7 separate regions of the Homo sapiens genome follow, and regions 2, 3, 4, 5, 6 and 7 are each linked to region 1. Evidence: promoter capture Hi-C in 16 types of primary human blood cells and fetal thymus (Javierre and others, 2016). All regions are on one chromosome and are shown on one strand. The core of a region is centred on a gene start or on the middle of the fragment in contact, and the rest is flanking DNA. Distances in the headings are between cores, read along the strand shown.

Region 1 (4,083 bases), core at 1,557-4,056:
AGTGATCTGCCCGCCTTGGCCTGCCAAAGTGCTGGGATTACAGGCGTGAGCCACCATGTCCGGCCTACTTACCCTCTTTAGACACATCTCTTCTTATCATGTGATGACATATAACACTTTATCTGGTTAGAGAATATAGTTCTCATTAGGGCTCACCACTAATCAAAATCACTGTTTAACTTCAAGATTCAAATTTTCATGTCTGTCTTCTAGCACCACATCAAAAATTAATAATCACTGCATATTTCTTTTATAGCTTTGTATTTCCAGATAAGCATTTGACCATTCCATAATACTATGAAAATACTTATTAATGTGTTTACATTTTTGAAAGATCAGTATAAAAATAAATAATGTAACACCCAAGAATCTCTAATTTTTTCCAACCTACCTGATTGCATTTCTCTTCTTGTCTTAGAACACTCGATTCTGGGAGATTTCACAATTTCAGAGGTGCCTGAGTCTAATGTCCTTTGTTTTTCTTCGAGAGAAGAGTCTGTAGTATGTTGAACAATGTTTTTTTTCTCTTTCTTATTTTTTTGTGTAAATTCTTTGCTATCCTTCTTCGGACTTATGTTTGAATCTATCTTAAATTTACATGAGGTTTTCATTTTTTTAATTCCTATAGAATTATCTAAATCAGTTTTATTTTCAGAACCCTTGTGATTAGCCTTCTTGGTTTCTTTCTTTTTCTCAACTAGATTTTTTGAATCGATTTCTTTTTTAGTCTGGGTTTTTTTCTTCTTTATTTTCTTTTGACTCAATGCTTTGCTATCTTCACCAGAGAGATTGGAATCAGAATCTGAAAGGTCGTAAAAACGCTTCAAATCCTCTGTAGTGCTATGGCTAATGGGGCGCCCTCTTTTATCCACGGCATAGTTCAACTTGAACTTCTTGTCATGAAACATGGCTCGAAATCTCTTGTCAATTTTGACTTTTCGATCCTTTTCTGGCATTTCCCAAAATCTCGGGTCCTTTGCAACCCGTCTAAACCGCTGGTCACTCATTATTTCTTGTTTGGATGACATTTTTAATTCTTAATCTCGACCAAATGCTTGAAGAAAACAAATACTGAAAAATAAAACAAATGTTTTAATGGTAATAATGGTTAGTACAATAATTAAATGTTTTAAAACACATTCACAATATATTCTAAGTTAATATATTCTAAGTTAAGTGTACATAAAATAGAGGTAACAAGTCTAATTTCATCTCTCCAACGTATTCTGGGTCACATGCAAAAAAGCAGAAACATACCAAAATATCCTCTTTCCATGACAGATCATTTAGAGAAATAAACTTAAGGTAGACAAAGCAGAATCCCAGGGCTTTATGGAGGGGAACAAATGTTTATTCATCCATTGCTCTCACTTAGAATTTCTATTTGTATACCAGTATGTGTTACTAATTGAAGGCAAATGTAGTTAAGATTCCCTAGGCCGAGTGCGGTGGCTCACCAGCACTTTCGGAGGCCAAGGCGGGCGGATCACTTGAGCCCAGGAGTTCAGGACCAGCCTGGGTAACATGGTGAATCCCCACAAGAAATACAAAAATGAGCCCGGCATGGTGGCGCGCGCCTGTAGTCCCAGCTACTTTGGAGGCTAAGGCAAGAGGATCACTTCCACCCGGGAGGTCTTGGCTAGAGTGAGCCTAACGGCACTACAGCACACCAGCTGGGGCAACAGAGTGAGACCCTGTCTACCAAAAAAAAGTAAGAAAGAAAGATTCCCTAGCCTCCGTTGGCCTCATTTGTTTCTTCACATTCTGGTCTCATTCTGCTTACTCCTTATCTCCGGCTACTGCCAACAAACAGCCTTTAGTTCTGTAAGACTAGCATTCTAACTAAACAGACCAAAATCAACTCAGGTTTAGCTAAGAAAGTTTCCTTTTTAAATTCGATCATCCTTCAAAAGTAATAAAAAGTTTAAAAATAAAAAGTAAATTTGAGTCTCCAGGTAAAGTCTCACACCAGTTAATAAATATCACTTCTTTCTATAATATCTGATTCTACCAGTGATGAAGGCCCAAGTGAGCTCATTCCCCCAAAACATACTAGAACATATACATATGTGTGTATAAATTAATATTGTTCCCTTGTGAAAAGTCTCCAATGGTTTAGCATCTCTGGATGGGAATTTTGCAAAGAGCCAAAAGTCGTTGATTATTAAGCAACCCCCCCCCAAAATGATTAAAAGGGCAATATTTCTTATTTAAAAATCAAGTCCTTTTAATTACACTAACTAGGAAAAAAAAGGAAGCTATCGCTGGTGCATTTACACATTTTTCGATGTATTACAGCACTTAACTCTCTGAGCAATCTTACGAGGTAGGTACCACCTCAACCAGGAGAAGTACTGCATGTATTGTAAATGTTTAGAAGGAAAGCACTCATTATATGTCAGATAATCCGAGAGAGGGGAAGGCGACCGGACCTCACTCCCGACACGCGCCCGCATCCCCGTAGCCCACCCTCCCCTTCTGCCCGCTCTCTAATTCGGAGAACACAGGGCTGGCCCCTGAACTAGGGTCTCCTTTCCACCTCCTGTACCGCAGGGGGGCAGCTAACAGACTGATTCGAGAAGCGACCCTGAAAAGGATCGATGAAGACTGAAGAATGAGACCGAAAAAGGCTCAGGAGGAAGGGGCAAAACCCCTCGCAGATCCGAAAGAGATCCTGTTAGAGACTAGTTTTTTCCCCGCGCCACACACACACACGCCCTCAAGCCCTTCATCTCGAGCTCTTCAACTCCAGTCCATCCCCACTCACCGTCCGCAGTCCTACCAAGCCTCACGTGGGGCTCACACCCACAATCCTCCGCGTGACGCTCCGCCGTAATGGCAAGCGAACTAGGCCAAACTACTTGCACGTTCCCTCGAGAAGATCTTTGGAGTAGACACAAAAGCCGCGCTGGCGCATGCGCACAAAAAGCGCCGGCAATTGGGGTCGCAGCTGGAGATGCTGCGGCCGGCAGGGCTCTGGCGCTTATGTCGGCGACCTTGGGCGGCGAGGGTCCCAGCGGAGAATCTTGGCCGTAGGGAAGTCACCTCTGGTGTCTCTCCCCGCGGTAGCACCTCGCCCAGAACCCTGAATATTTTCGACCGGGATTTGAAAAGGAAACAGAAGAACTGGGCAGCCCGGCAGCCCGAGCCGACCAAATTTGACTACCTGAAGGAGGAGGTGAGCCCGCGGGGCGGCGGGGCGGCGGGGCGGGCGACGCGGAGGCTTGTTTTCCTCTCCGCTAGTTCCGGCTAGGCCCCGAGCTCACCCCACCTAGCCGTCTGACCTTGACCAGCAGCCCTGCCTCTTTCGGCCTCTACTGTAATCACGCAAGGCCTGGCCTCGGATATTTGTAACATGCTTTCATTCATTCATGCATTCATTTCGGCAACGTCCTTGAGGCTGAAAGGACCTTATAGAGGCCTCCAGTGAAGCTCCGGAGAGGGAGAGAGTGGGAGAGAAGGTTAGGAGGACCCAAATCATCAGGGCCTTGCAGGATAGGGACTTGGGGTTTTCTTCTGTATCTGCACTGTCCAGCCAGTATGGTAACTGCCGGCCACACATGTGGCTGTTGAACACTTGAAAGGTGACTAGTCCAATTGAGATGTGTTGTAAAATACACACGAGTATAGTGACTTAGTATGAAAAAAGGATGTAAAATAGCTCATTAAGAGCTTTTATATTGATTACATGTTGCAGTGATTATTTTTGATATATTGGGTCACATGAAATATATTAAATATAAATTTAAATTTTTCAATTAAAATTTCTCTCGTTTTTACTTTTTTTCTTATGTGGCTACTAGAAAATTTGAAATTACATATGTGGCTCTCATGATTTTTGGTCAGCACTGCTCTAGGGGAATGTGAAGCTCTTGTTTTAATCAGTGGAGTGATCTGACTTATGTTTTAGGAAGATCAAATTAAGATTTCTGATTTGTCTTGGCTCGTTTGAGAAACCTTTCTCCCTGCCCAGGTGAGCCAGAGACTGAGGGTTTCTACTTTCAGGACACGCATTCTCAAGTTCAGGCCTCAGTAAATTTTTATTCAGGAGTGGAACAAAGTTGGAGTCAAGTATAATGCAAC
Region 2 (3,873 bases), core at 166-2,665, 4.8 Mb after region 1:
TCTCCTGCCTCAGCCTCCCGAGTAGCTGGGACTAAAGGCGCCTGCCACCATGTCTGGCTAATTTTTTGTGTTTTCAGTGGAGACAGGGTTTCACCGTGTTAGCCAGGATGGTCTCCATCTCCTGACCTTGTGATCCGCCTGCCTCAGCCTCCCAAAGTGCTGGGATTACAGGTGTGAGCCACGGTCCCCGGCCTACTATCTGCATTTTCAAGAGGTGTTCCTCTGTATTTGCATGAGTGAAAGATTGCTGTGAAATTTCACATAGAGCTTCCATAAGCTTGATTTCCTGAAACTAGTTAATGTAGATTTATATTTCTTTCATGTTGCTATTAGGCACAGCTTTAGTGGTCGCTTTAAGGTTAGTTTCAGCAAATCTCCATATTCACTTTGGGATTCACAGTAGCCCTTTGGGTACTACTGCGTACTGGGTAAGTATGATATAAATTTGATTGTAACTTCTGAATTAAACAGACTGGACCTATTCTTTAGGACCAGTGCACATACCCCTCATTCCTTCAGCAAGTGTGGATTACCCACCAACTGTGGCCAGTGCTATTCTAATGCTGGGAATGCAGTCAGGACGACATGATTGATGCTGAACCAGTTTCCTCAGTGGTCTCTTGGTTGCAGGCAACAAACACAAGTGAGCTTAAATCAAAAGTGGGTGTTTATAAAAAACGTGTATTGGTAGCTCAGAATTAAAGCAGAGAGTATGGGCCAGGAGCGGTGGCTCACGCCTGTACTCCCTGCACTTTGGGAGGCCGAGGGGCGGATCACAAGGTCAAGAGATCGAGACCGTCTTGGCCAGCATGGTGAAACCCTGTCTCTATTAAAAATACAAAAATTAGCTGGGCATGGCACCGCGCACCTGTAGTCCCAGCTACTTGGGAGGCTGAGGCAGGAGAATCGCTTGAATCTGGGAGGCGGAGGTTGCAGTGAGCTGAGATCGCACCACTGCACTCCAGCCTGTTGACAGCGAGATTCCATCTCAAAAAAAAAAAAAAAAAGCAGTATGTTGTCTTCAGAAGGCCTGACACTGGGACCAGAATGCAGGCAGCCACTTGTTGAGCCTGCCTGGGCTCTTGGCCTTGCTTTTCTTATTGCACACCAGCTGCTTTTCTCACCTTTCTGGAGTAATACAAATATCCCAAGAAGATACTACCTCCCATGTGCAGTGCCAAAGTCTGACCAGCCTCTCCTCAACCTGGTCTTTGGCTTCCACCCTTGCGAGAGACTCAGTTCAGTTTTTATCAGATCCCTGCCTATGGATTATAGAGTACTGCCTCAGTTATGAATAAAGTGGCATTTGTTTCTCATTTAGGTAGTGTTTTCCTGTTCATAGCTGTTGGGACCCTGTGAGTAGAGATGTGATGTGTGGTAGGACAGGAATTGGGCATTTCAGGGTTCCTCTACAGTACTATGACCTTCAGACCCTCATCTTGATTTCTCATTGGTGTCAGTTCCACCATTATGGGTGGCCTGAGCAGTGCTGTGGTGCAGTCAGCCTTAGTGACAAGGATTCCAAAATCACAAGTAACAGCTCCAGATGCTGGTAGCAGAGACTCAGCTTCCCAAGGGATATCAGGTCAAGCATGGATTCGTGCCAATTGGCTGTGTATTCCAGTGGACCATCTTGGTTGGCATCAAACTGATGAATGAGAAGCAGTGTACGACAGTAGATGGGGAAGGTGAGAAGCAAGTGAATCAGAAGTATGGGAGAAATGGGAACAGTAGCATGAACGTTTTGGAAGACATTTCCTAACATGAGGGCTTCCAGAGAAACAAAGGGCAAGGGCTGAGGGGCTGTGGCACTTGGCAGGTGAGAGTTGTTAATAGAGCACACCGAGGATAAACAGCTGAACTTCTACTCTCACCTGGCAGTCTACCCAGGATTCATACACTTGTGGGGCTTAAGGGGACATTTGGGTTAGCTTTCCTTGGGACTTGGCTGGGTTTCTTTGCTAGATCTAATTTATTCTCTTATTTCAGCCCAGCGTTCTCCTGAACTCAAGATCCATGTCCATCTAGCATTGCCACTTGGATATCTAGCCACCTCAGCTTTGTCCATAACTTAAATTGCTGTCATCACCCACAAGGCTGCTCTTCCTTCCGTTCTCTTTCTCAGAGAGTACTCAGTTCCTCAAATTAGGAACCTATCATTCTAGACTTCTCCCTCTTCTTGTTCCTTCTCCTTCCTCCAGCCACCAGGTCCCATCATTTCTACTGCAAATATTCCACTCCATTCCCACCTTCCCATTCCCTTTACCACTACCTTACTTAAATCCTCCATCCTCTTTGCTTATGTAGCCTCAACTTCCTACTCTCTTTGTCTCTACTTGGAGTCCCCTCCAATTGGTTTCTACAGTATTAGCCAGCATGACTTTTTTGAAATTAATTTTTATATTTTTAACAAAGCAACAAATGCATTAAAAAATTAAATAATGATCAAAAGTTTGTAACCAAAAAAACAGTTCCTGCTTTATCCCTCCTTGCTTTCAACTATTAGGTTTTTTTTTTTTTTTTTTTGGTATTTACGTCCACATTTCTAAATAATAAGCTTTTACTAATATCTTTAATTTATCAATCATGTATGGGATTTATTAATGAGGATTTGATCCTCCTTTCCAACTGACTAACCAATAAAACTATTGCATATTTTTGATGAATCAATAATTAATATTTACCCTGTTTTAACTATGCAAACATAGTTTGTTGATAAGCCAAGTAAGTGAGCTATAATTGTTTCTCATATAACTTTTCTTTCTGGAGTTAACTGCACTCTTTTTTTCATTTGCTTTGTTTTCTTGATGTTTCTCTCTCATTCTTTCCACATCCTCTAACCTCACAATATAATTTTCCACACAAACCTTTCCAGTTTCTCTTTTCTGTTTTTAAATCTTGGAGCTCTTTGTCTTCTTGGTACAATCTGGACTGATCACTCTAGTTCTGCTTTGCATCCATTTTTCTTTGCTATTTGCTTTGCCATCCTATAATGGATCTCTGTTTTCTCGATACTGTGTCCCCATAATTCTGAAAAAGGGTATATAATTTTTTGGTGATTTTTCATGTCTGAACATGTCTTTTTTTTTTTGAGACAGTTTCGCTCTGTCACCGAGGCTGGAGTGCAGTGGTGCGATCTCGGCTCACTGCAACCTCCGCTTCCCAAGTTCAAGCAATTCTCATGCCTGAGCCTCCCGAGTAGCTGGGACTACAGGCCTGCGCCATCACACCCAGCTAATTTTGCATTTTTAGTAGAGATGGGGTTTCGCCATATTGGCCAGGCTGGTCTCAAACTCCTGGCCTCAAGTGATCCGCCTGCCTCCACCTCCCAAAGTGCTGGGATTATGGGCATGAGCCAGTGTACCCGACCAGAACATGTCTTTTTCGTATTCTCATACTCAATTACTAGTTGGCCTGGGTACAGAACCCCAGGTTTGATCATTACTTTCCCTCAGAATTTTGAAAGCATCAGTCCCCTGTATTCTAGCAATTCCAATATTTCAGCTGAGAAGTCCTAATCTTTGATTATTACCTGTTTTCTTCTCTCCAGAAGGTCTTAGGACCTCCTTCATCTCTAGTGTTCTGAAATTTTTACAATGATGCACCTAGTGTGGCTTAAAAAAATTGACTAGGCTGATCACTCAGTGGGTTCTTAGTTCATGGAAACTCTTGTTTTGTTCTGGGGAATTTTCTTATTTTTTAGGAATTCCGTTTGCCTTTTAATTTTTTTTCTCTGTGTCTGGAATTCCTAATAGACATTCCAGACTACTTTTTATTATTTTATACTTTTTCTTAACTACTGTTGATCTCTTTGTTTATTTTCTACTTTTCAGGGAGAGGGTCATTCATTTACTTATACACTTGTGAAGGCGG
Region 3 (3,815 bases), core at 1,316-3,815, 4.4 Mb after region 1:
AGAAAAACTGGCTGTTTTGGAGTTCCTGAGAAAATATCTATTTTCTTCAACATGTCACCTTCCTAAAATGTTTTCAAGGGTAGTTTTAACTGTTTTTGACTTTTTCCTTATGTGCTGACTTCAGAGCCTCAGCCTGAAGAAGGTGGGATTTCGTGGCCTTGTCTGCCTATAGAGCCCACTACAGGGCCATACACAAGGCAAGCCTTCTTGCTTGCATTTAAAATAGTCATAATGGTGCTTTATGCGGTGCCATGTGGTGTGATGTTTCTGTAATCATTTAGTGCTGAGACTGATAAATTTATCAGTCACTGGTGCCAGTTCAGCTGACACCCTCCACCTTCTTCCCAAACAAACCTCCTCCTTCCCACCTCCTCCTTCTCTCTCAGCCCCAATGATGACAAGCTTCTGATCATTGCCTGAAGCCTCTGCCTTGACCTATTGCATTCATGCCCACCATCAAGCCCAGTTTAAACCCGTGCCTCCTACTGATACCTCCTGCTAGGGTACTAGTGATTTACTATTCTTTAAGACAGAAGTGACCCGAAACCCAGCTCTCCCAGGATAGCTGCCAGGACCTGGCCATGATTCAAGCCCAAATAACATAAGCCAAATTACACACTCAGTGAGGAAGGCATTTTTTTCAAGTCCCCACCCTTGTGTGAGTGAAGGTGGAACAAAGATTGTGTGACCATGTTGTTCAAACACAGGAAAATGACTGCATTCCCTCCCCTTAGTTTTCATTTGTTGATTCTTCTCCAAGCCCTGACTTCCAACTGTACTTCTTTTTTGATGCTGCCTCTTGCTTAGAGGATTCTGAAGGGAAGGACAGGGTAGTATGCTGTTCTAAAGAGTATGGGACTTTATCCTGTAGGCATGGGGAGCCACTGAGCGGTTTTTAAGGTGGTCAGCTTCCTATTTTTGTCTTTGGAGGTAAGTTCACTCTGAAGGCCAGCCAATGGCAGGGCAAGGCACCCACTGTCCTCTCCAGGAAAGCAGTGGCCATTCTGGGCACACCTAAGTCAATCCAAAGCTGAGAGGGGCAGGAACTGATGTGATCTTAGGATGCCGAGACACTAGAATATAGCCAGATACACAAGGTTCAGATGTTCTGGCCTTACAAGCAAATTGTATTAAATCAGCCATGCTTCCTAAGCTTCGTCCCACCTTGGTAAACATAAAAAATAAGGATATCTGTACAACTCACTGGGATCAACTTGCGTGAGCTTGGATAATTCTAAAAGGAGCTTCATGGATAATAATTATTTACATTTCCTTTATATGGTACTCTTATAAAAAAGAAAAAGAAAAACAAAAAAATAAATGACATATAATTATGAGAAGAAAAATAAAAGCAAATCTTGGGGTAGATTTAAATATCAACTTTGGGTAAAATTTCCTGATAACATTCTTCTTGGAGTCTCTTTTAAATATCAAGTTTTGTGTTAAAAATAGTTCCTGATCATTGCTCCTGCACATAGTTCTTGATCAAGATTTTTTTTTTTTTTTTTTTTTTTTGAGATGGAGTCTCACTCTGTCACCCAGGCTGGAGTGCAGTGGTTTGATCTCGGCTCACTGCAACCTCCACCTCCCGGGCTCAAGTGATTCTCTTGCCTCAGTCTCCCAAGTAGCTGGGATTACAGGCACCCACCACCACACCTGGCTAATTTTTGTATTTTTAGTAGAGACGGGGTTTCATCATGTTGGCCAGGCTGGTCTCGAATCCCTGACCTCAAGTGATCCACCCTCCTTGGCCTCCCAAAGTGCTAGGATTAAAGGTGTGAGCCACCACGCCTGGCTGATCAAAATCTTTTTAAATGATCATCTCTTTAATTTTTGATAGTTACCATGGAGAAAAAACTTTTTTTTTTTTTTTTTTGAGTTGAAGTCTCACTCTGTCACCGAGGCTGGAGTGCAGTGGCTCACTGCAACCTCTGCCTCTCGGGTTCAAGCAATTCTCCTGCCTCAGCCTCCCAAGTAGCTGGGATTACAGGCATGCGCTGCCACATTTGGCGAATTTTTGTATTTTCAGTAGAGACGGGGTTTCACCATATTGGCCAGGCTGTTCTCGAACTCCTGACCTCAAGTGATCCACCTGCCTTGGCCTCCCAAAGTGCCTGGAATACAGGCATGAACCACCGTTCCCAGCCAAAAAGCTATTTGATACAAGAAGTGATGATAAAATGTAAAGCCATCGGCTATGAACCAATGGGAAAAAAAAGAAAAAAACACACAATAAAAAATCAAAAGGAAATAAAGACAATAAAAGAAACAAAAAAGAGCCATTTTTTTTCTGTTCGTATAGTTATGTAAGATTTTGTATAGAAGTGTATCATGCATGTATGTGTGACCACACAGCCTTGGTGTGCCACTGGACCAATTTTCACAAACACCCAGTACCAGCACCCAGTACTAGAGTTCTAGATCAGCCTAGCCAACATGGTGAAACCCCATCTCTACTAAAAATACAAAAATTAGTGCAGCCTGGTGGCTCAGGCCTGTAACCCCAACTACTCCAGAGGCTGAGATACAAGAATCGCTTGAATCTGGGAGGCAAAGGTTGCAGTGAGATCACCCCACAGCACTCCAGCCTGGGCGACGGAGTGAGACCCTGTCTCAATTAAAAAGAAGAAAAGAAAAGAAAAAGAAAAAAATAGTTGCTTCTCAGTTTGATGATATGCAGTCACTCTCACAAATCAGTAATTTATGCGACAATAATCACGGAAAATATACTGCTTAGGCTTATAAATATTTAAACAGATAAACATACTTTTTTTTTTTTGCAAGACCTCCCTCAGTCCCCCAACCCACTTTTTTATTTGACACAGTTAATAATAAATGATTTCTTAAAAGTAGAATACTTTTTTTTTTGCTTCTAGTATCCTGAAAATAAAGAAAAGAGTACATTTCAAGAAAACAAGTTGAAAAATTAGTCACAATAAAATGAAAGGCGATTGATCTAATTCCCTGATGTACACTCTAAGGACATACAGCTCTGTTGAAGGCTCACTGATTTACAGGGGAAAATATCTAGGATATACCACGAATAAAAAGAAGTCTAATATAATTTTTAAAGAGAAATATGCAAATACACCCTGAACTGAATTTCTTCTCAAAGTTCATTACAGCAAGAACTCCATTTTCCAATTCAGTGGTACATTCTCTCTAGGCTGCAAAAAATGCTGTGGACAAAATGACATTTGGAAAAGGTATCTTTAAAGATACCTTTAAGAGCAATAGTCCCCTTATGCCATTTACGCTCACATAAGAGACTGGAATAGCAAAGCACTATGAACAGTAATGAATGTTGTAAAACTCCCTGGTGAGGCTTAATCAATACTGCCTATAGCCGTGTCCACCGGAAGAAGCTCGTTCTCTGTGAATTCTAGTGGGAAAGAATGATTGAATGATGAACACGTTTTCACTGGTTGCTCTATCAGATACTTAAAAGTTTCTGGGAGGCCTTGCCTTTTTTACCCGAGGAAGAAGTGAAAATGCGTCTTGCACAATTGCTTAACTATTCCCAACGCAAGACTTCTTTATATCATTTATTTCCCTTGTATTACTGGCGCGGAAACTTGGGTGTAAAAGTGATCACAAAGATTACATGGGGCCAGGCGCGGTGGCTCACGCCTGTAATCCTCTCGGGAGGCTGAGGCAGGAGAATCGCTTGAATCCGGTAAGGTTGCAGTGAGCCGAGATCGCGCCACTGCACTCCAGCCTGGGCGATAGACAGAGACTCTGTATCAAAATTATAATAATAATAATAATAATAATCCGAGCCTGACCAGTCGCCCCACAGCGTCAAGGTGAAACCA
Region 4 (4,159 bases), core at 1,336-3,835, 4.2 Mb after region 1:
TAGAACACTGCAGACTGCAGGGCATTTTCAGGCTACATAGCCTCAAGTTCCTAGAACAGGAACTGAGGCTTGGAAGAAGGTCAGTGCAGCGCACTCAGCGAATGGATAAACTGAATCATCATTTCACAAGGCTGCAAGCCCATGTACTAATGGAATCAACATGGAACCAGAGTTAAATTACTGCCTTAAATATCTAATGCATGTCAAGAAATCCATCTAATTACTAAGTACCGAAATTATAATACTTTCAAATGAATTCACAAAGCAAAACAGCTGAACTAATGATCTGTAAGGATCTCCTGGCAGATAAATCCTACTGGGAATCAATACACCACTGCTACCAAGAAAGCAGGTCCAACAAATGAATAAAAGAAACCCAGCCAGGCAGAGAGGTTCTTGTCTGTAATCCCAGCACTTTGGGAGGCTGAGGCAGGAGGATCGCCCGCGGCCAGGAGTTTGAGACAAGCCTGGGCAACACAGCAAAGCCTTAAAAAAAATCACCTAGGCTCGGTGGCCTATGCCTTTACTCCTAACACTCTGGGAGGCTGAGGTGGGAAGATCACTTGAGCTCAGGATTTTGAGTCTGCAGTGAACTACGATCAGACCACTGAACTCGAGCCTGGGAGCAGGCCGAGACCCTGAGACCCTGTCTCAAAAAGTAAAAAACAGAAATGCCAGTTTCCTTTACTCAGAGCTAAAAGCCTTCACCTACTACCCAATCCCATCATGGCTCCCTCCCAAAAGTTCACTGGCATACCATATCAAGTCAGCAAGCCCCCTTTTTTGTAGCAGGGTCTCACTCTGTTGCCAAGGCTGGAACAAGCCCTCTTCAACAAAGCTAAGATGGTCCATATTACTCATGTGGATGAGGGTGTTGAAGGACATTTACTGCCTTCCTTCATGGTCTCACTTCATGATCAAACCAAGATGCACAGGAAATAGGTTTGACAATTTACCTTTACCAAGAAAGACGATTCAGCAACAGTGGTAGAGCTGCCTGTTTGAACTTAACCTTGGTCATCTCAGTTTGAAATACAAATGGCAGCATGGAGAGCAGGCTGCCCGCTTTTTGGTTGGACATTTCTTTCACTCTTGAGTTTGAGGTACAGCAAATTTCCCAAATCATTCAGATGTAAATATTCCAATACTCAGACCAGGGGCCCATTCAGGAGGCTGAGTGCAGGAAGATGGCCTGAGCTCAGGAGTTCGATACCAGCTTGGGCAACACAGCAAGACTGTCTTGAGAAAAAGAATTCTAAACAAAATAAATACAAGAATTCAAAACAAAATTCATGAAAGATATAGGAAGGGTGAGGGAAGAAGTCCAACATTTTATCACCCACCAGCTACCAAGTATCTAACAGCACAATGTCCTAGCTCTGCGGTGCTCTTGAAAGAAAAAGTGAAAACCCTGACAAGGGAGCCATCTGGATTTGTATTCCTCACCATTTACCATGACTAGAATGCTTAGGAGTGTGCCCTTCAGAAACTGAGCTTTTCAGGCAGAAAATTAGTTTTCTCTCCAGACCATATAGGAATGCCTAAAAAAGTTATGCCAAAATGTAAAAAGAAGAGTCAAGCCAAGGACCCCCATTTTTAAACTTAAGTGTTGGCTGCCCCTCAAACTGCAACTTACTCCTCCTGGGGTACTATGGTTTGCCTTTAGGCAGCATGTGAAGGTGTGAAGATCTCTTTTAGGAGATCTTGTCAGAGTACCTCAATGGCCAATCAGAAAACAGGTATTAAGGGTGAAGAAGCCACTTTTTGGAAAGTTAGATCATGCAGAGAAACTTAATTTACACTTTAATAGCCGTTTCTCACTATTGGGATCATTAAAAGTTAGACTGTTTCCTTAAATACTATTTAACTTCACTACACACTGTTGTGACCACGGGCTATTTAAGACATTCAGGGTACTAACCTATAGATCTGTTCTCACCTAATTTGCTCGAGCATCAAGACCCTGATAATAAAGACAGAAAAATGCTGAAACAGCAGAATTTTAAACCAAGTTCCCCTCTGCAGCACAAGAAACTCAGGTAAGTTTCCAGTGTCCAAAGCCTACACTCACAAACACAAACACGAAGCCCTCCCTTTGCAACCCTCAAGTACCCAGAACCTGCTGAAGAAAACCATCTTTCACCACCTTTTGTTAAGGTTCCTCAGTATTAGTGGAAAAGCTTTATTCTCACAAAGATATCCAACAATGCTAATTTTTACATGGCATGTTATTTCCTTAGGCAAGATTAATAGAAAACCTGAAAAATTCGCAACAAGCACACAAAGACTAGCTTCTGTAACACAACCTGACCCCACCCATATCACACCATTTTAGAAGGAAGTCCGTTTAAACCAGTGATTCTCAAACAGGCAATTTTGACTTCTTATCACCATGGGAGGGGAGGAGGCCGCGTCCTAGCAGAGGCCAAAAACAGTTGCTTCACATCCTACAACCCAGAGGGCACTCCTCAACAAAAGTGATCAGGCTAAAATGTCAACAGTGCTCCCCAGGTTGAGAAACTGAATTTTAAACTCAACCTCTAGTTTAGATGACCACTAGGTCTCACCGAATGAGGAGTTTACAGCTCAGAAACAAATCTAGAAAACTTAACAGCCTTGGCCAAGCACAATGGCTCATGCCTGTAATCCCGGCATGTTGAACTGGATGGTGAAACCCCATCTCTACCAAAAAATACAAAAATTAGGTGGGCATGCTGGTGTGTGCCTGTAGCCCCAGCTACTCAGGAGGCTGAGGTGGGGGTGATCACCTGAGCTCCCCAGGTCGAGGCTGCAGTGAGTTGTGATCGTGACACTGCACTCCCGCCTGGGTGACAGAGCCAGACCCTGTCTCAAAAAAAAAAAAAAAAAAGCCTCTTGGCCATTTCTACCTATGGCCAAAATAATGTGAACAGATAATGACCTTTTAGAGTATTCACAAATGGGGATCTTAAGACACCGAGTACAAGTTACTGAACTAGAACTAAGGCGTGGGAAGCTTGATACGTCATACTTCCTCAACTTAGAAAATAGTTGCAAGGGTAGCATAAAGCTTCAGTCCACAAAGTTTGTAAGTTTGGACTTGCTATGGTATTGGTCAAAGTTCAGGATTGTTCCTATACTAACCAACTGCACTCCATTCTAGCTAATGGAGAACAAAAATACCCCTAGAGGCAGCTTCCACACCAGTTAAACACGAAACCAGAGCAGCAGTACTTAGTCTACAAACACTCCTGAGTAGGTAAGAGGACAGATATCATTCACCAAAGTCCCTGTAACCAAGCAGTAAGTTAAGGCCAAGTTGTTACTGTCAAGGAAGGAGAACCCCCTAGTTAAAAATAGCACTAGGCTGCGAAGGTCGAGTTCAAATACCAGCCTGGCCAACATGGTGAAACCCGGTCTCCACAAAAATACAAAAATTAGCCGGGCATGGCGGTGAGCGACTGTAATCCCAGCTACTTGAGAGGCTGAGGCAGGAGAATCGCTTGAACCCAGAAAGCGGAAGTTGCAGTGAGCTGAGATCGAGCCATTGCGCTCCAGCCTGGACGACAGAGCGAGACTCCGTCTCAAAAAAAAAAAAAAAATCAAAAACCAGTAAATAGAGGACCAGTTAGGAACCAAATTAACCATGCATCTCTTCCCCTGAACTATTTTCTGAGGAAGAAGGCAAACCCCAACACCCTCGGCTAAAGAATGTAACAAAATGCCAGTGTCTGGCTACCAGACACGACTGACACAGTATTCCCTTTCAGTTTTGCTGAATTGGCCAAAATGAGTATTGGGCTAGAATTCAAAATCCTGAAGAATCAAGTATGTCCCCCTACCTTAGTGAGTCTTAATTAACTCCATCCTTAGGGAGAATTCCAAACCAAAGTAAATTATCAGGAGGGCATTTAAACAATTTAAGTAACACACATTTCAGGTAACACACAAAACATTTCAGTTGACTACCGAAATTGTATTATGGCAAAAAGTTGCCCAAGACTTAGTTTCCCATTATTTCATACTTGCCCCAAACTCCCTTTCAGTTAACCATAACACCATCTAGGCCAGACCACAGCAGGTTATCAGCATCAGCAGAGATCAGAAAACAAAAATAAAGCCACGCGTCAGGGTAATTATTTATTTTTATTGTCTCTTTATTCCTGTAATGTAAAAAGGA
Region 5 (4,195 bases), core at 1,144-3,643, 4.5 Mb after region 1:
AACCAGCATCACTTGCTGTGATCCTAGTCTGGCTATTATGGGCTTTACAAATGAAAACACAATTCCTAACCTTGAGGTGTTTTACATTTAATAGATAACATATTAAAAGAAAATATAAGTATAGAATCATGGTCTTTCTGAGATTTAGGAATTTGGAGATTCTTTAATCTAGCTGCTTATATTCAATTTAAAGATCTGAGCCCCTGATTGGTTTAAAGCCTTGTTACCCAGTCTGGTCTGAAGACAAGCAGTACCAGCATCATCTGGAAGCTTATTAGAAATGCTGATGCTTGGGCTCCATCAGGCATTCTGATTCAGAATTTGCTGCTTACAAGATCCCAAGTGACATGTATGCATGTTTTTGAGAGCGCTGGGTTAAATGATCTACCGAGGTATATGGTTCAGAAATAGCAACAACCAATAACTAAACTTCTGATTTTCCAAAACAAGATCTCTCTTCTACATTATTACACAACATCTTCCCTTCTCAAGAGGAAAACAGCTCTGTTATGAATAATGGATGCCCAGGCTCCACTGCAAACTCATTTCTTGGGGTGGTGTTCAGGCATTGTATTTTTAAAAGCTTCCAAGTACAGCCAGGGTTAGAAGAGTCTCAAGTAGTCACTATAGTATAGTGATCAGGGAAGGTTTCACGAAAGAGAGCTAGGTATTTGGTCTTGAAGGACCAGATGGATTCAGAGGAGCTAAGGGTATTCCAGATGAGGTATGGCATGGAGTGGGTGGGAAATGCCAGGAGAAAAAGAGGACATGGCAGCAAAGAGTGTTTTAGAAAGCAGGCAATCCAGATTTCTAGATGGAAACTCCTAATTATTAAATGCTGAGGTCTGTCAAAGATGAAACTGGAGGCTGGACACACCAAATATCTGTATGACAGAGCTGTACATCTAGACGGTGGACATCTAGCATCCCTGTCTATATGCAAGTCAGCTGGCTGCAAGACCACGTGCTGCTGAAAATCTCACTGTGGTCATGACAGTCCACCCAGTGGCTCAGACCCTGAGATTCTGTTCACACTTCCTACACTCTTCCTTACTCGTCTGTGTTCTTCCAACTCCTCATCTTGCCTAATTCCTCAGGCAGCACCTCATCCTGTAAGTCTTCATTTCCAGGCTTAAGAGATGTCAGCCATCTGTGTCTTTATTGTACAGCCAGCACAAGTGAACACTTGAACACAGGCATCCCTGCATTGTTGTTCTGAACCTTTATGTGTATTAACAACTAATTTCTTGGTGATGACTGACTCATGAGGCAGAGAATGATGTTGAGGGATGAATCCAATTGACACTGGACATGTCTCCGGAGCCAGGACTGAACTGAATTCACAATAAATAATGTAGCCTCGGGGTACCAGAAGGGAATGGATTCACCCTCTGAGAGCTACAAAAGAATTTTAGGAAATTCTCATCTCCCTGGCCCTTCAGACAGTGGTCATTTTCTTGGTCTTCCAAGAGAATGACAAAGTTTCAGAAAGCCTATCTGAGGAAGGTGAAGGGCAGTGAGAGGGTGCACGGGTGGAAAAGCCCTCTCAAGAGTGACGTGGGCCTTCCCCTCGAGCTCCCCAGATGGGGCGTCCCAGATGGCACCAGCGCAATCTTGTTCTCAACCAGGATCCCGGACAAAGACCTAGAGATCCAAGCCGACGGCAGGCCAAGCTCTGGCCCGAGACTGAGGCTTCTGCTTCTCAGGAGATGAGAGTTTAACAATAACTTCGTGGATTTCAAAAAGAAGAAAAAGGTCTCAGGGCACCGGAAAAGGTGTATTCGGGTTGAGGGCGTGGGCTCAGAATCGGGTCTACCTCGTACGGGATGTGAGACTTCAGGCAGACTGCTCGGCCTTTTCAAGGCTTTAAATGGAGCTAAAGGGTATACGACATGACGTTCGCCCGGTGTTTAGGAATATGGGGCGTGACTTTCCAAGCAGGCGGCTGGAGCCAGGGAGACCACAGGCCGCTGCAACACAAACCAGCACCTGAACAAGCTTGGTCAGCCAGCGGTACACCTCCGCCAACCCCAGAAGCCGAACAGATGCGCCCCGAAACGTCATTTCCGCGCGCCAAGGGGCGGGGCCGGTACCGGGTGCGGAAGTCGCTCCAGGGGTCACTGGGAAGTGTAGTTTTCGAGACAGAGGCGCTCAGAAGGAGGGTCACAGTAGGGCCAGGCACTCTTCTCGGGAGCTCCTACGTGTTTTATGCACGTGGTTAAGAAAAAAGAGGGAGAATTCAGGTGCCACAGTGGCCATTCTCCGGTGACCGGAGCGTGTTACTCAGAAACGGATCCGTCAGAGGCCAATGGGAGCTGCCGGCCTTCAGGGCGCGCCTGGTGGCGCCGAGCATCCTGGGAGGTGTGGTCCGGGCGCTGTGCCGAGGATTCGGGGTAGTGTAGTCCTGGCGCCCCGCTGGAGGAGCTCCCCAGCTGGTGGCTGGAGCGACCCCTTGTTCTTTGGTGGCGCTGGTGAGTGAGGCTCCCGCGGGACCCTTGCCGCAGCCGTACCCTTTTCTGCGCGAAAAGGAAGGTCCCGAAAGGCTGGACTATGGGCTGAATTTGGGGACCGTGCGGGTGGCGCGGGGGTGGTGATTGTGGTGGGAACGCGCTGGCGTGGCGCAGGCCGTCCTCTCCCAGATGTCTTATTTTGGGGGTGTGGGCGTGCATCTCCAGGGGAGTTGGGTGAAGCCCATCCGTGAAACTGGATGGTGATGAGTGGGGGATCGGGCTCTCTCTCCTAGGGTTCTTGTGGGTGGGGACAGGTTCGGCTTTGGCTGAAGTCGGGTATTGGGAAAGGGAGTCGCTGATGCCATAAGTCCCCGGTTTTGGGGGAGTTGAATAAATAAGCTTTTTGGGGGAATGGTATTTCCCAGGTGGTGGAATGGGAACCATCCCTGGGGCCATGTGTCCCCGAGGCATTGGTCGGTTGAGGGCTAGTCTCTTGGGGCCACACTATTCTTCGGCTTTGCTGGAGTGGAATGAGGAGCGGTCTGGCTTGACCAAACAAGCCAAGGTTAGACTGGATCTGGGGTGGCCATTTTGCCGCGATCTTAGGGTTTCACTTTGGTTGGTCACCCCCGGGTTCGGGCGTTGGAGGAGGAAGTCTGGCTGGGACGCACAGGACAGGTTTTTTCCAAAGGTCCCAGGGACCGTCATTGATCGCAAGAATTACGGATTCCCAGGCCCCTGGTGTGGCCAGGCTTTGGGATTTTACATTCCATTTAAGTTTTTATTGCGGAGAAATTTCAAACAGCCAGAAGTAGATAGAACTCTATAGACCAGATCTCCATCACCCAGATTCAACACTTAAAACCTTATGACCAATCTTGATTCATCTCAGAATGGACACAGAGAATCCTTGCAATCCAGAGTTCACCGTCACTGCCCTTACTGTGTAAGAGCACGGTCTCCACAGCCACATTTCCTCTAGGCTCTGTCACTTTATAGCTGTGTCACCTTGGGCAAGATGCTGACTTCACTGTACCTCAGTTTCCTCGATTTTATCCTAAAGAGGATAATAGCATCTATCGTATTGGGTTGTTGAAAGGATAGAATGAGGTGAAACTCCTACAGTGGCTGTAACAGTCTCTGGTGTATACTAAGTGTTCAGTGAATATTACCTTTCATTAATAACAGGCACAGAGAAGGTCGCTTCATGCTCAGCGTCAACAGCATATCAGGGCAGGTCGTGCTTTCAACCTGTACCCCAGCTGTGTTCCCAGGAAGCTGCCCGCAGTTCTTTTCTCCTTTTCTTCTGTGGCAGGTTCATTCCTGATGCTGTTAAGGAATAGGAGGTACTGCCCTGCTGGAGAGGATTTCCCTTGATTTTCTTGAACGCTTTTTGTTCTTGTTCTGCCTCCCTGTGGCTCCTGTCTGCCCAGAGAGGACTGCCTGCTGGGGAAAGGGGGTACTCCTGAGCTCCTGACAGCCCAGCTTCAGGTGGGTGCCACTTACCTTTTGCATTTCGAACCATGAGTGGGTTTCTTTTGCTCAGCTTTGACGTCTGTGTTCTACAATGTCCCATCCAGGGATCAGGGCCCCAGCTGGTTCCTTCAGGAAACTAGGCTTGTTTTAAGAGTGATCATTTTCACAGGGAATATTTTTCAGAGCTGATGCTCTCATTCATTACACCTATATTCTTCCCCTACATTCCTTCTTTCAGTATTTGTTCAGACTGCTCATTCCCAGGGCTT
Region 6 (3,834 bases), core at 1,286-3,785, 3.9 Mb after region 1:
GTCAGTGAAACAAATTCCATGTGAAGGCCAAGTTCAGCTCACACAGGGCACCAGTTTGGAATTCCTCTCAAGACAGCCTAACAGACCTTGTTTGCTTATACCCTAACAGACCTTGTTTGCTTATACCTTGCCCAGGATAGAGAATTAAAGATTTGAATTCAAGATGGTCTTTTATTCCAACTTTTGAGTCAGCAGATGATATTCATTATCACTATAAATAGTCTGTAACTTCCAGTAGTCTTAGTGGGCCTCCTTTCTGACCAGAAAGAGATCAAGTAGCTGTCCATCATTCAGCTTCTTCCTTTAAAGTTAAACTTTGGTTTTATATTATTCTTTACAGAGTACTAATACTAAGATGAGCCCACAAGTACAACCAAGAATTCAAAAATTATTCCCCAGTACTGCCCAATGATCCTTTCGAAGTTATATGGAGGCCGGGCACGGTGGCTCATGCCTATAATCCTAGCACTTTGGGAGGCCGAGGAGGGCAGATCACCTGAGGTCAGGACTTCTAGACCAGCCTGACTAACATGGTGAAACCCCGTCTCTACTAAAAATACAAAATTAGCCGGGTGTGGTGGCGCATGCCTGTAATCCCAGCTACTTGGGAGGCTGAGGCAGAAGAATCACTTGAACCCGGGAGGTAGAAGTTGCAGTAAACCAAGATCACGCCATTGGACTCCAGCCTGGGCAACAAGAGCGAAACTTTGTCTCAAAAAAAAAGAGAAAAAAGAAAAAGAAAAAAAAGTTATATGGAGAATAACAGAGCTGTGTAAATAGTCACTGGTGTAGGAAGCAATTTATGCCACCCAAGAACACTGGAACTCCAATACTTTGGAACTGAAAAGGTTTCGGGACTGGGCAGGTATTCTAGTCTTGCCAAAAAAATCTAAGTTAGAAATCACAAAATGTTCTTGATAAGTTAAAGTTGCTGCCCATTGTTGACAGGTGGAAGACACATGTTACTGAATGCACATAAAGGACACACACGTCTGGTTTTGGGGGTGTCTGGTTGTCTGCTTCAGGAGACTCGGCCAGAATTTGTCTGCCTAAGAAAAGTCTCCTAGGAGGCCCCTGAACTAATTTTCTATATGCTAAGTGAGAGTGCCTCCTTGCCTAGGCACTGTCACTTAAAATTAAATATTTACCTTCCCTTACAAGCCATCACTTTCTACCTAATATCAATTTATTTTCTGTCTTTGTTACAAGTCACCATTTTGATGCTGAGGGCATTGGGTAAAAAATCTCTCCAGGAAAGGGCCACTATCTGTGTGGCCCCCCTCCCACTCCTTTTTCTTGGAATGCAGTTTACAATGCACACAAAGAGGCGGGACTAATGCTTTCTCAGGGTGAGATCTTATCAGGTGAAGTGTATCAACTGCCACTAGTCAACTGGTTTTGACCTACAGAATGGGCAATTTCATGTGGTTCAACATATTACCACATGATCAAGAGGAACAGGGACATGAATGTTTACAGAATACCAGCTGCCTCTACATCAGCACTGTCTAGAACTTTCTGTGATGGTGGAAACCATCTACAGCCACGCTGACCAACTTATGACTACTGAGCACCTGAAATGTGGCTAATTTGACTCAGAAATTGAATTTTTAATTTTACTTAATTTGAATTGTTTTAAACTTAAATTGCTACTTGTGGCTACTGTATTGGACAACACAGTTCTAGACAGTAGCTTTTTCAGGCAAGAACTAGGTCTCACTTGCGGTGTTTGAAGGCCCACCACACAGGAGACCCTCGGTGAAAAAAATGAAATGAAAAATACCTTCAGCACTGCCAGATTTTCAAAATGCCTCCCCACCTTCCTGCCACTGAAGCTCTTAATTTTGATCTTCACGTTCTGTGTCCTCCCTTGGGTAATTATTGCCCCAGGAAGGTGGAGGTATATAGCCAGGAGGGAACATTTGGAAGGCCGGGCCCACATCGCCTAGCAACTGGGCAACAGGAACTGGCCTGACAACCTTCTGACCAGCTGGACCTCCACATTCTCATCCACTGAATGGGTGACAACCATTCCCACCCCCTAGAACAGGGTTATTTTAAGGCCTAAATGTAAACCACAGTTGTGGAATCTGATTCTAAAAAGTGAACCTTAAAAACCAAGTTGGGCTAAGCTTCATTTATCCAATGAGACAGCTGGGAATAGTTTAACAGGTATGGGGGCGCTGTCCGCCTGGTATAACCAATATTTATGATGTTATAGGCCAGGCCTTAACCACTGCAGGCCCAGCATGCACAGACGGACAGCACAGTCCCTGCCTTCATCATTCTGACTTGACCATTATTTTTGTTTCTCCTGAAACAAGATTTTAGCAAAGAAAAACTTGCTGTCTCAACAGAACTGTTGATCCTCTATGTGTCATTCATCTATTAGTTAAAATTCCCAGGGCTAAAAAGACAAGAAGAGTCTGGGGTCCCGACACTTTTAAAAGGTGTCCCTGCTACATAATAAATCAATACTCCAATTCAATCACTGGCATTCAACCATTTAAACTGAGTTTGCTGCTATGTAATTATTGCAGCCTGTTGAGTTAGGGCTCATTTCATTAAAGAGCATAATTGCTCAAATGTGACTTGATTTAAGATTTATTTAAAACTCTTCCATCACCAAAAAATACTCATATACCATGAACCACTGTAACTTCTTAATCTCTCTGTAAATGTTCAGAGGCAGATTCCTAAGTATGAAAGGTGAGAGTTGTTATAGTGCCTAGAGCTCTAAACCCTCTCCTAAACCCCAAGATCCCTTTCTGGTTTCCCCTCCCCCAACCTTAGCCTCCTCCAGGCCTCCACTGGCCCAAGATCCCTGCAAGCCGGCTTTGCGGTGCTCCATGTAAAAGGAAAACTTCACCTACTAGGAGGTCTGCCCCGGCCTTTGCTTCAACAGAGAGGGAAATGGCACCTCCAGGACCTCAGAACCGGAAGCTTCTTTCTGGAAGGGAAAGAGGTTGGCATATGATAGTGGGAGTGACCTTTGGCAAGTTCGTAAACGAGTCAAGACATCACACAGTAAGTGACATGCTGCAGGGTCACAGATTTCTCTAGGTGTCGGATTAACAGGAAGTTAAATCAAACAAGGAGTGTGAGGAGGGAGGCGGGGCAGTGGGAGAATGCCCCCCAGCTGCACAGGGCGGGGTAACATTCGCAGTTGTTCTTCCTGGGAGTGCCAGACAGACGTCCTGGGTCTCTGGGGACACCCAGTTCTGAAGAGGTATCTAATGTGAGATATGAGGCCCTACCAGGCCCATTTCTCCAAATTCCTGAAAATGCCATCCAGATGGCCCCTACCCTGAAGGTTCCAGCACGCAGAGTGAATAGCTGAGCAGTGACGTGGGAGGCTCCTCAGGTCCCTCAGAGTTTCATTTCCTTGGTGCTTCCCAGTCTCTCCTAACCTCTGACCTCTCAGAGTAATTGCCAAATTGCCTTCTGTTTGTACAAGGTCCCAGCACTTCCCGGCGTGGTTCCCGACCCTGTGAGTGGGTGGTGCTGTCTTCAGGCCACAGATAAGAAACTAGGATTCAGAGGGGCTATGGGACCTGCGAGTAGGCGGCCAGTACGTGGTCCGGGGTGTAGAACCCCGGCTGTGCAACTTCTGCAGCCCCGCGCCCGCCGCAGTGCCGGAGCCAGGCCCCACCTTCCTCCCGTGTCCAGCACCCCCCAACAAAAGCATCCCAACTGAACAGCCAACACTTGTGGCTCCTTCCTACAAGTGCTGGGTCTCCACAGCTTTCCTCGCAAATCGAAGCTAACAGGAGCCCCGATTTGCAGACCAGGAAATGGAGACCCCGAACGAAACAACTTGGTCGGGGTCACCCT
Region 7 (3,958 bases), core at 168-2,667, 3.8 Mb after region 1:
TAAACCGGTAGTTTCTTGATGACTGTAGATATGTATGTAATAGGGATTTGATACTGTTCAGTTTTTGGTTCTTCTTTGGTTTAATGCTGTAAGCTACAAAGTATCAGCATCTTGAGTCTTTTTAATATCTAATTATTAGAAATTTAATAACATTTTAAATGTATATGCTACTTTATACTGAAAGACTTAATCTAGGGGCTTTGAGTTATGGTACGCTTAAGACCATTCACTCTGTGAAAGTGCTTTGAAGCTGACTAGGGTCTGCTCTAGAGACTTCTGATTTGACATTATGCTTTTTTATTGAGTGGCTAATACAGACTTTATTTTTCTGTTTGAAAATAAGAGACCAAACATTTTACCTTTAGTTAAATGCTTAGTTTTAGTTAAAGCTTAACTAAATTCAAGGAAGGAAGGGTCTGTTATATTTCCTGGTTCTTGTGAGGAGTGGGAGAAATAAAAATTAGAAATGAGCGATTTCCAAATACGCTTCAAAATTGTTGGCTTTAGGGAGATCAAGAAGACCTTACAAGTTACTCTTAGAGTTCAGATTATAGACCCCCCATTTTTAAAGGTTATTTTTGTTTTTAGCCTTATGAGCGCAGGAGCATCTTTGTTTAGTTCAGTGATTAGAGAATATTGTGGGTATTATCCCAGAGTCTAGCACTTTGCTTTTAGCTCTTTTGGTTAGATGCTTGGTTCCAAGTTTCTTTTAAGATTAAATTTTAACTACCGATGGGTTTGTTCTAAATTAGCAGAATCACTTCCTTGTACTCACCAAGTCTTTTAGAAGCACCTGAAATAAAGCAGTTTGAAACCAGCTGGGCGCTTCAGGATGAGATTAGATGTTTTCAGATGTCTCCTCCAACAAAAAACAAACAACGTCTGCCTCCACGTGAACCACAATTACAGACCCCAAACAAAACGTGTGTGTGTGTGTACTGGGTGTGCCAGCCTCCTTATACAGAGATTGTTTAGTAGCCCATCATCAAGTTACTAAGGTTATTTGCTCAGTAGTTCTACTGGATATGGATTGAGACATCACACCTAGACTTGCCTAGCTCCTCTTGTAACCAGAGTATCTTTTATGCTTCTTGGAAAGTAAGAGTGTAGTCTTGCCCCTGAAGTAGAGTTAAAAGGTTTGCACGATAATCTAACCCTTAACCTTATCCTAATCTGGACTGTGGTCTCACAGACTGAACTAATTGGCGCAGTATTCAAGTATTCTAATACTTGGTGATTAGCAAAAACACTACAACCCAGTGAAATAGGTTGGGCATGTATTCACATGCCTATTTAACATATGAGAAAACAGATTGTAAAGGATTAATTGACTTGAGACAAATCACCTTTTCCAACTCCAAGTTTTAAAATAATAATTTTGAAACATTTTAAGCAGAAAAGTACACAGAATAACAGATCCTTTTGTACAGGAAAAACAGGGCTATCTTATTGCCATATTTCAGGTTTTTATGTTATCATTACAGCTAAATATGCATCATCTTCCTCATCCCACTCCCTTCCCTCCCTAGAGTTATAACCATTCCTGTGTCAAAGACATAATATCCTGGCTGGTTAAGGAGATGATTTTATTCAGGCTATTGCAATTAGGAGAGCATTCCTGATTGCCTTATTTGAAAATATGCAACAGGCCAGTTCTTTGCAGTTACCTGTTTCCCAGAACACAAAACGGTGGGGTGGATTAACCATCACTGCTTTCTGAGAACACAGAGCTCAGGTAAAGTTCACAGTAGTCACCTGAAATTGATATTCATTGATAGTTCCATACTTTTAGCTACTTAATCATTCATATGTATTGCCTTGATGTGCTTTTAAAACTTACGTAAATACTGTGCTTCATGTATCCTTTTGCAGCTCTGTGAGAAAAAATTAAACTTTGTGGGGGTGGTTTTTTTTTTCCCAGGGGAGGGCAGCTTTTGGATTTATTTGTAGCTTTGGTTCTTCAACTGCTGAATTGTGTTCTTTTGTATGATTGTGCAAGTTTATCCATTCCCCTGTTGATAGACATTCAGCCATTTCCTAATTTTTTGCCTTTTTTTGGTCTATTTAAAGTTTTTATAATAGGCAATTTCCATGTCATATATTGCTATATATTACTTCTCTAGCCCCAGTGTGTATCTCTCCATGGTGTATATCTAGAAGCGGAAGCCCTGGATTGGAGCATACATATTTTCTACTCTACTACTGGTTCGTTCTGGTTGTATCTCATCATTAACAGCTTGTTTCTACATTGCCTTTCACCACTTAATAAGAGACTTGAAACCTTTGCCAGTCTGATGGTTGTGAAATGGTTTCTCATTATTTTATTTTGCATTTCTTTGATTACTAGTGAGCTGACTCTTTTCATATGTTTATTGCATCTTAGGTTTTTACACGCATGCTGCATCCTGCAAACCTGGCCATTCTGTAAATACTTACCATCTTCACCTAAGCTTATTTGCAGAGCCATAAAGTAAATGTAGCAGTAAAAAAAAAAAAAAAAAAATCAGCTGGATACAGTGGCCTATACCTGTCATCCCAGCACGTTGGGAGGTTGAGGCAGGAGGATTGCTTGAAGCCAGGAGTTGGAGACCAGCCTGGACAATATAGTGAGACCTTGTCTGAACAAAAAAATTAAATAAAAATTAACTGGGCATGCTGGCATGTGCCTATACTCCTAGCTATTTGGGGGACTGAGGTGGGAGTATTGCTTGAGCCTGGGTGTTAGAGGCTTCTGTGAGCTATGATTGTACTACTGCACTCCAGCCTGGCCACAGCGGGAGACCCTGTCTCAAAAAACAAGAACATGATTATCAATACCAGAACCTCATACTGAGGAGTAATATTTCTCTTTTCTGGCACATAAATTTCTTTCCAGGCCCCTTAGCCAGCTAATTACCAGAAGTTCAATACTCTCTGTTAATTCTATCCACCTGCCATTTTTAGGCCCCTGGTAGTGGTAGAATGTAGAGTGACTTAGGACAGAGTTCTTTCCTTCTTTGCCAAGGGCTGTGGAGATTAATGTCCTTCACTTTACACTTACCCCTCTCTTTCCTGGCAGTTCTTCTAGCCAAAATGTAAAAGCACACACAGTAGATATATGGGAACAATGCACTTCTGCTAAAATTTGCTGTGTACCTAAAACTTCTCTAAAAAATTAAAAGTCTATAGCTGGGCGTGGTGGCACGTGCCTGTAATCCCAGCTACTCAGGAGGCTGAGGCAGGAGAATCGCTTAAACCCAGGAGGCGGAGGTTGTAGTGAGCTAAGATCGCACCATTGCACTCCAGCCTGGGTGACAGAGCGAGACTCAGTCTCAAAAAAAAAAAAAAAAAAAAAATTAAAAGTCTAAAAAACAAACATGCAAAACAAGTAAACATGACTGACTTTCTTTTCTTTCTCCTTTCCTTTCCTTTTTTTCCTTTCTTTTTTCTTTCTTTTCTTTTTCTTTTCTTTTCTTTTGTTTTTTTTTTTTTTTTTTTTTTGAGACAGACTCTCTTGCAGCCACCCAGGCTGGAGCTCAACTGCAGCCTTGATCTCCTGGGCTCAAATGATCCTCCCACCTCAGCCTGCGGAGTAGCTGGGACTACAGATGTGCACCACCACACCCAGCTAACTTTTTAAAATTTTTTGTAGAAATGAGATTTTGCTACATTGCCCAGACTGGTCTCAAACAATCTTCCCGCTTTGGCCTCCCAAAGTGTTGGGATTACAGGCATGAGCCATTGTGCCTAGTGACTATTTTTCATAAATAGAATTTGTTTAAATCAAAATTGTGTTTAACTTAGTATACAGGAAGACTTCAAATTTTTGAGTTTTTATGTTAATGTAACTTTATATTTTCTTTCAGTAATATTTGAGATGAAGCACACTACATTTGAAATTTGAAAAAAAACTTGCAAGTCTTGAAAAACTGAATTTAACATACAAATGCGTTGATTTTGTCCACAGAACAACACTCTA

Evidence for each region. The method cuts DNA at HindIII sites, captures the fragments that hold promoters and counts their contacts. A CHiCAGO score of 5 or more calls a contact.
Region 2: a contact is called between a fragment that was not itself captured here and the fragment with the promoter of ESF1 in region 1, in 2 of 17 cell types (total CD4 T cells and naive CD8 T cells). The highest score is 6.6, in total CD4 T cells.
Region 3: a contact is called between a fragment that was not itself captured here and the fragment with the promoter of ESF1 in region 1, in 3 of 17 cell types (non-activated CD4 T cells, naive B cells and total CD4 T cells). The highest score is 7.5, in non-activated CD4 T cells.
Region 4: a contact is called between a fragment that was not itself captured here and the fragment with the promoter of ESF1 in region 1, in 3 of 17 cell types (total CD4 T cells, non-activated CD4 T cells and naive CD8 T cells). The highest score is 8.2, in total CD4 T cells.
Region 5: the fragment with the promoter of ZNF133 here is called in contact with the fragment with the promoter of ESF1 in region 1 in 4 of 17 cell types (total CD4 T cells, non-activated CD4 T cells, naive CD8 T cells and 1 more); the score reaches 8.6 in total CD4 T cells.
Region 6: a contact is called between a fragment that was not itself captured here and the fragment with the promoter of ESF1 in region 1, in 1 of 17 cell types (naive CD8 T cells). The highest score is 5.1, in naive CD8 T cells.
Region 7: a fragment that was not itself captured here is called in contact with the fragment with the promoter of ESF1 in region 1 in 1 of 17 cell types (total CD4 T cells); the score reaches 6.0 in total CD4 T cells.

Annotation. Positions count from the first base shown.
Region 1 is chr20:13,782,113-13,786,195 of GRCh38, forward strand. ESF1 (ESF1 nucleolar pre-rRNA processing protein) reads right to left here and starts at 2,807. Exons shown (of 14, transcript NM_001276380.2): 1 at 2,768-2,807; 2 at 392-1,071. The coding sequence starts at 1,028. It overlaps NDUFAF5 (NADH:ubiquinone oxidoreductase complex assembly factor 5), which reads left to right and starts at 2,916. Exons shown (of 11, transcript NM_024120.5): 1 at 2,916-3,178. The coding sequence starts at 2,957. RefSeq lists enhancers at 2,852-3,141, 3,137-3,826. The HindIII fragment of the contact is 9,427 bases long and covers 1-4,083 here.
Region 2 is chr20:18,569,681-18,573,553 of GRCh38, forward strand. No RefSeq gene overlaps it. Among named protein-coding and RNA genes, the nearest start is that of SMIM26, 4.2 kb to the left of the region's middle. The HindIII fragment of the contact is 2,280 bases long and covers 276-2,555 here.
Region 3 is chr20:18,133,544-18,137,358 of GRCh38, forward strand. It overlaps a transcript of KAT14 not described here. Among named protein-coding and RNA genes, the nearest start is that of KAT14, 2.4 kb to the right of the region's middle. The HindIII fragment of the contact is 2,828 bases long and covers 1,152-3,815 here.
Region 4 is chr20:17,962,820-17,966,978 of GRCh38, forward strand. All of the region lies in intron 1 of SNX5 (sorting nexin 5), which reads right to left. SNORD17 (small nucleolar RNA, C/D box 17) reads right to left here and starts at 127; the gene lies at 1-127. RefSeq lists an enhancer at 3,391-3,470. The HindIII fragment of the contact is 815 bases long and covers 2,179-2,993 here.
Region 5 is chr20:18,286,134-18,290,328 of GRCh38, forward strand. ZNF133 (zinc finger protein 133) reads left to right here and starts at 2,394. Exons shown (of 7, transcript NM_001352452.2): 1 at 2,394-2,471. RefSeq lists enhancers at 1,967-2,016, 2,096-3,001, 2,107-2,446, 3,007-3,126. The HindIII fragment of the contact is 851 bases long and covers 1,997-2,847 here.
Region 6 is chr20:17,677,126-17,680,959 of GRCh38, forward strand. It overlaps RRBP1 (ribosome binding protein 1), which reads right to left. Exons shown (of 25, transcript NM_001365613.2): 2 at 2,874-2,950. Among named protein-coding and RNA genes, the nearest start is that of RRBP1, 3.2 kb to the right of the region's middle. RefSeq lists enhancers at 2,411-3,610, 3,802-3,834. The HindIII fragment of the contact is 811 bases long and covers 2,131-2,941 here.
Region 7 is chr20:17,571,413-17,575,370 of GRCh38, forward strand. The region is part of intron 1 of DSTN (destrin, actin depolymerizing factor); the gene reads left to right. Among named protein-coding and RNA genes, the nearest start is that of DSTN, 3.3 kb to the left of the region's middle. The HindIII fragment of the contact is 2,061 bases long and covers 388-2,448 here.